Linked DNA regions of Homo sapiens: region 1 is linked to region 2. Evidence: promoter capture Hi-C in 16 types of primary human blood cells and fetal thymus (Javierre and others, 2016). All regions are on one chromosome and are shown on one strand. The core of a region is centred on a gene start or on the middle of the fragment in contact, and the rest is flanking DNA. Distances in the headings are between cores, read along the strand shown. Region 1 overlaps STT3A (STT3 oligosaccharyltransferase complex catalytic subunit A). Region 2 holds the start of NCAPD3 (non-SMC condensin II complex subunit D3).

Region 1 (3,266 bases), core at 591-3,090, 8.6 Mb before region 2:
ATTTTGTATTTTTAGTAGAGACAGGGTTTCTCCATGTTGGTCAGGCTGGTCTCGAACTCCCGACCTCAGGTGATCCACCTGCGTCGGCCTCCCAAAGTGCTGAGATTACAGGAGTGAGCCACTGCGCCTGGCCTTATTATTATTATTATTTATTTTATTTTTTGAGACAGGGTCTTGCTCTGTCACCAGGCTGGAGTGCAATGGCATGATCAGGGCTCACTGAAGCTTCAACCTCCCTGGGCTCAGGTGATCCTCTTATTTCAGCCTCCTGAGTAGCTGGGACTACAGGCGTGTGCCACTAAGTCCTGCTGATTGTTGTATTTTTTTTTAGAAACAGGGTCTCTCTATGTTGCCCAGGCTGATCTTGAACTCCTGAGCTCAAGTGATCCACCTGCCTTGGCCTACTAAAGTATTGGGATTACAGGTGTTATCTACCTCACCCAGCCTTATTTCTTTTTAAATAAGAAACTTAAGGACTTACATATTTTGGGCCTAAAGAACTATCTTTCCATTTAAAGCTCTTAAGCATTTTATGTCAAATATTTTTCATGTTGTCTATGTATCTGTGTATCTTTCTATATTTTTTTTGAGAAAGGGTCTTGCTCTGTTGCCCAGTCTGGAGCACAGTGTTGTGATCATGGCTCACTGTAGCCTTGACCTCCTGGACTCAAGCAGTCATCCCACTTCAACCTCCTGAGTGGCTGAGACTATAGGTGTGTGCCACCATGCCTGGCTAATTTTTAAAAAATGTTTTGTAGAGACAGAGTCTCACTGTGTTGCCCAGGCTGGTCTTGAACTGGGCTTAAGCGATCCTCTTGCCTCAGTCTTCCAAAGTGCCGGGCTTACAGGCATGAGCTGCCATGCCTGGCTGTAATCTATATTTTTATGCTTCTATATAGGTGACATAAGAAGCATTTTAGATAACCACATGAGTAGACCTTGTTAAAAGTTTAAACACTGATTAAGAAAGTTGTGTTATGAAGTAGGTTAAAATTTTTTCATCCTGCATATGATGGTATACCAACATCTTTAAAGATTCTCATCACTGGAAATTATTCATGTGTCTTTGTGTGCAGTATAGATTTTTAAAAATATGTTCCTGTCACTTAAAAGCCAGAATCTGGCCAGGCATGGTGGCTCACACCTGTAATCCAAGCACTTTGTGAGGCTGGGGCAGGTGGATCACCTGAGGTCAGGAGTTTGAGACCAGCCTGGCCAATATGGTGAAACCCTGCCTCTACTAAAAATACAAAAATTAGCTGGGCATTGTGGCGAGCGCCTGTAATCCCAGTTACTTTCAGAAGGCTGAGGCAGGAGAATGGCTTGAACTCCGTAGGCAGAGGTTGCAGTGAGCCGAGATCGTGCCATTGTGCTCCAGCCTGGGCAACAAGAGCGAAACTCTGTCTCAAAAAAAAAAATAAATAAGAAAGCCAAAATCTATTGGTGCCCACATCTCAGTGGCTTTGTCTTCATGGTGCTTGAATTCTCTGACTGGTCCTAATGCCTACCACATGTCAGCTTGTTGAAGTATCCCATTTGATTGCTTTGTTACAATGTTAGGCTCCAGTTTCATTTCCTTTTTATTTATTTATTTTTTTTTCTGAGATGGAGTCTTGCTCTGTTGCCCAGGCTGGAGTGCAGTGGCAATCTCGGCTCACTGTAACCTCTGCCTCCAAGGTTCTAGCGATTCTCCTGCCTCAGCCTCCTGAGTAGCTGGGATTACAGGCACATGCCACCGTGCCCAGCTAATTTTTGTATTTTTAGTAGAGATGGGGTTTCAACATGTTCGTCAGGCCAGTCTCGAACTCCTGACCTTGTGATCCACCTGCCTCGGACTCCTAAAGTGCTGAGATTATAGGCATGAGCCACTGCACCCGGCTCATTTCCTTATGAGAAAAGCAGTGCTTTAGTTGAGACAAGCATGGAGATAGAAGTAAACAGACTTATGGTAGTGTAAAATGATTTTCATGGCATAATATCTGATGTTAAACTGATTTTTCATTGAGTAATGCTGAATTTCTCAATGGTGTATCCTGAGGAGCAAAATTCACCACAAATTTACAACAAAGTTTATTTCTTGCTATAGGTACTTTAATTATCGGACTACCAGGTTCCTGGCTGAGGAGGGGTTTTATAAATTCCATAACTGGTTTGATGACCGAGCCTGGTACCCTTTGGGACGAATCATTGGAGGAACAATTTACCCAGGTGAGGAGACCAGATGTGTTTTTTTTTTTAAAAAAAAAACAGAAATATTTGTATGCTAGAGAACCAGTTTCTTTTATTTCTAATAGCTTTGTCTTGTGACACTTGTAATTTCATCCTGATTACAGGTTCCTAAAAGTGCATCTTACATAAACAGGAGTACATTTGTAGTAGAGTGGAGATGGGTGGTTTTTATACATTCTAGACTTCTGATTGAATCCTTAGGGGAGAAATTTATAGGCTTACTGCAGTTGCTATGTTAGTATTTCTGGTGATTTGTCAAGACTTACATAGTCACTTTATTGTATCTGGGATTTTCCCTTTCTTTTTCCCTTAAGTTCTGGTAAGACAACCTAATGGAGTTTCTTCTTCCTGTTACAGGTTTAATGATCACCTCTGCTGCAATCTACCATGTACTCCATTTTTTCCACATCACCATCGACATTCGGAATGTCTGTGTGTTCCTGGCCCCTCTCTTCTCCTCCTTCACCACCATCGTCACGTACCACCTTACCAAAGAGCTCAAGGTGAAGGATTTGGGGTGACAGGAGGCTTGGGAATGAATGTTATTGAGCCTCTCTAATCGATGCTGGAGGGTGGGGGACAGAGCCTTAGAAAGGCAGGGAGCCAGAAGGTGAAGACAGCTTTTACTGGGCCAAATTAATTGGCTTCACTCCAACCCCTTTCTGCAATATGTGTTTTTTATCATTAGCAACTGTTTGTCCTTATGAGAGTACAGTTGAAAGTGAAATGTAAATTGCAACATAAAGAAAAAAACATTTAAAATGCAAAATGTGAGGTTTGGATTTTGAAGTCCTCACAATGTAAGGGAGAGGAAAAAAAAACTACATGAAACATTCCAAAACGGTTAGTTTTTCCTACCAGGAATGTACTCAGCAATTATTTGTTGATTTAAAAAAAATTTTTTTTTATTTTAAAATTCTTAAGCCATTTGGCTTCCGTAGTAGACTCCATAATGCTGACTCTGTTTTTCCAGGTTTCAGCATTGCTGACCTTGGCTCCCTGGGTGCTATTCTTAGTTTGTGCTGCGGTGTTAGAGA
Region 2 (3,571 bases), core at 31-2,530:
GAGGGAGAGGAATAAGATGATTCTTCAATTGGACCTGAATGTAAGAGTTTTGCCAGGCAAATAAATGCAGAAAAGTGCCTCCCAGCAAGCACAGTGTAACAAAGCACACAAAGGGAAAGAAATTAAAGTGTTTCTAAATGAACAAAATTGTTACAGTGTTTGCTTGTGGGTATTAGTATCTGTTCAGCAGTTATTATGTGGCAAGTACAAATTTATCTTTACAAAAACCCCTGTGAGGTAGATATTGTACTCCCCATTTGACAGATCAGAAAACAGGGGTTTAGCAAGGATAAACAACCTGCACGGTAATACATGGATGCTATGGGGTAGAGCCAAGGGAACAATCCAAGTGTGTCCGACTCCAAAGGTTATGCTCTTGGAAAATCAAACTGGAGAGAATGGCAGCTCTTATAAAGCATGCCAAGGATGTGGTCATTTATTTAGGAAACAAAGGGGAAACATTAAAGGTGTACAGGCTTGACACATTCAAAGCTGTGTTTTCAAAAGTCGTTCTGCAAAAGTGTGGGGGATGGGCTGGCACAGTTAACATCAGAAAGCAGCTAAAATACTCCTGCAATTGCTCGAGGCTATGATGAAGGCAGCAGCATCAGGAATGGAGCGGGGCTGCCCTGAGACACCTCAGAGGCAGGACAGTGGTAGTGGGCATGAAAGGGGAAGCAGAAATGCCATGACTCCTGGGTTGGTGGCTTGGATGGTGCCATTAGCAGGCTTTGGGAATCCCATTTTCACTCATGTGACGTTTGATGATGTCTGCATGTGAGACATCCAGTGGAACCTATGAACATGAAGTTCAAGAAATAAGTCTGGCGGAAGAAAGAGATTTGCAATTTAAAACCATCTTAATAGGTAAGAATAGATAGGTGCACGAAGACACGCACAGGAAGAAGGGGAAGGCCGAGAAAACAGATGCACAGGCGCTAGAAGAGACTGGCCAACATTCGCTTATTCTAAGGGTGGCCTGGCCGGCTTGAGCCCCCACGGGAAACCTGGCTAGCCGCAATCCTGGCGTGGCACGGCCCTGGGGACCCCAGGCACCGCCGACAGCCGGGCGCCCCCACCCCGCCCCCACCGGCACCCCGGCCCGGGCTTAGGCATCGTCGGGGACGCATAGGACCCTCGCCCTGGCCCCCGGGCCTCCCGGCTGCATCTGCTCACCGAGTCTAAGATCCAGCGGACACCAGGGCTGCAGGCCGCTACCAAGGCCCCGCAACGCCACCATGATCCCAGGGCACCGGCTCGCCGCCGCCGTGCTCAACTTTCAAAGCTCGCTCCCGCGCGCGCGCCGAGTCGTTCCTGTGGACCAATCACAACGTACAGAATTTCCCACTGGCCAACCACCGCGCCGAGCCGTTTCCATTCGCTCAACCAATCACCGGCGTCGTCCGCCGCACGCTCAGAGAACTGGGCGGGCCGAAAAGTGGAAGCCAAACAAGGCTCCTGCGGGTGTTCCGCTAATTCGTTCGAGAAGGAGCCAGGGCCTGAGTTAAACCCTAACAGCGTTTTTCCCGCCTCGTTTTTCTTCAATGGGGGAAAATCTAAAGGGTATCTGAGATAGGGTACTTCCGGTAGTAACTGTCACCTTTGCCCTCGTCAGGCGACATTTCGCGTGCGTGTCAAAGGGCTGCCTTTCCCGTCAGCACTCGAACAGCGTAATATCCGAATGTGAAAGGCAGCCCAACGTGTATCGAGCTAAAGTAATAAGGGAAAAGTAGCCGAAAGCACTCCGAGAAGACAAGACAACTGCAGTTCTGTAGGGACTGCGCGGCACGCGTGGGCCCAGAGCCTGTCCCAGCGAGGTAGCAGCTGCCATGCCGACCGCTGGAGCGCCGGCCGCGCTCTCCCTGCGCATGCGCAGCGAGCTCTCCTCCGGGCTGCCGGGAGTCCCAGGAGCGTTAGGGGGTGCGCCTGCGCGCCGCTGCTCCAGCGCATCCGGGCTGGAGCTCGCCCGCCCCCTCCCCCGCCCGGAGCCGCCGAAGCGCCTCGGTGCGTTGCACCGCCGGAGGCTGGGCAGCTCGCAGCGCTGCTCGGCGCTGGACCCCACCCGGCAGGCGCAGGCCACCCACACCCGGCTCTGTGCGGCTGCCCCCCGCAGCATTGCACGGCCGACCCTCGCCCGCCCACTGCCACCGGCCGCGGGACTGGCTGGGACTGGCTCGGCCGAGGGCACTGCTCCTCGGTGCATTGCTGCTCGGGCGCCGCAGCCCGCAGCCGCCAGCCTCCCCCGGCCGTGCCCCTCCCCCGTGGAGCCGGCTGTCCGTCGGCGCCCACTGCCCGGCGGCAGCGGCGGAGCCAGGCAGCCCCGCGGCGGCCGAGCGCGCTCGCGCATCGGGCCCTCTGGCCTTCTTTACCTAGGGCAGCCCGCGCCCCGGTGCGAGGGAGCGGTCCTTACCGAGACCCGCCCGGCCCGGCGGTGCGATGAGCTTCTTCGGCTTCGGGCAGAGCGTGGAGGTGGAAATCCTTCTGAACGATGCAGAGAGTAGGAAGCGGGCCGAGCACAAGACGGAGGACGGGAAGAAGGAGAAATATTTCCTCTTCTACGACGGGGAGACGGTCTCCGGGAAGGTGAGCCTTGCCCTCAAGAACCCCAACAAGCGGCTGGAGCACCAGGGCATCAAGATCGAGTTCATCGGGCAGATCGGTGAGTCGACCCCCGGGACCCCCTCCCCCAGCGCCGACAGCCGGCCGGGGAGCAGGGTGATTCAGGGCCCAGCTCCTCCGGCGAGGCCTGTCACAGTCGCTTGTCAACTGCAGTCTGAGGCCTGGGGTTCAGCTACAAGTCCCGCCCGTGGGCGACTCCCCCTGCGTTACTGTCCTCCCTGCCAAAAGTGACAGCGCGCTGCCAGGGAGATGGGGACGGCGAGGGCGGGAGGAAGCGCCCTGCTGTGCCTCGTGGGATGGGCACCTTGCCTATGGGTTCTCCCCATTGTCTCCGGCATGCACTCGGCTTTGCTTCTTGTCCCCAGGATTTCTGGGTGAGGTGCTCTGGCCATAGCCTGCAGGTGGGTTTGTTAGGGGGAGACCGCTCTGCCAATACTGGCTTTCCCATCGCCCGGCCATCTGCAACTGCCAGACGCAAAGTGAGGCTCGTCCACCGAGCCCCACTTCCCAGAGCCCGCACCAACCCGTTTTTCTCTTTAGATGTGGTGTGAGAGAGCTAACCAGTTCTCTCTTACCTCACCTCAGCCCTGAACTACCTATGCTTGTACATGTTTCCAGAAAGAAGACCCATAATCTTCAGTCTAAATCTGACTACCTAGGCTGCGTTTCTTAGACTTCTTTATTAGAATGCAAGTTTTCAGTTACCACATTTTCTGTTTAAAGACAAAGAAATGGTGTTTCTAAAAACCACAATTAAGTGATCAGAGTTTCTCAATGCTTTAAACATGATTATTAATCATTGGAACTAGACAGCGCCAGGCACAGTGGCTGATGCCTACAATCCCAGCACTTTGAGAGGCTGAAGTGGGAGGATTGCTTGAGGCCAGGAGTTGGAGACCAGCCTGGGCAATATAGCAAGACCTGCCTCTACCCCCAAAAATTTTTTTGTAAT

What was found. Contacts are between HindIII fragments. The CHiCAGO score rates a contact against its expected background, and 5 or more counts as called.
Region 1: a contact is called between a fragment that was not itself captured here and the fragment with the promoter of NCAPD3 in region 2, in 1 of 17 cell types (monocytes). The highest score is 9.7, in monocytes.

What each region holds. Positions count from the first base shown.
Region 1 is chr11:125,600,217-125,603,482 of GRCh38, forward strand. It overlaps STT3A (STT3 oligosaccharyltransferase complex catalytic subunit A), which reads left to right. Exons shown (of 18, transcript NM_152713.5): 4 at 2,087-2,208; 5 at 2,587-2,732. Among named protein-coding and RNA genes, the nearest start is that of STT3A, 9.0 kb to the left of the region's middle. The HindIII fragment of the contact is 3,235 bases long and covers 224-3,266 here.
Region 2 is chr11:134,222,687-134,226,257 of GRCh38, forward strand. It overlaps NCAPD3 (non-SMC condensin II complex subunit D3), which reads right to left and starts at 1,281. Exons shown (of 35, transcript NM_015261.3): 1 at 1,177-1,281. The coding sequence starts at 1,240. VPS26B (VPS26 retromer complex component B) reads left to right here and starts at 1,985. Exons shown (of 6, transcript NM_052875.5): 1 at 1,985-2,659. The coding sequence starts at 2,437. RefSeq lists enhancers at 1,722-1,771, 2,562-2,621, 2,722-2,871 and a silencer at 1,892-2,361. The HindIII fragment of the contact is 9,666 bases long and covers 1-3,571 here.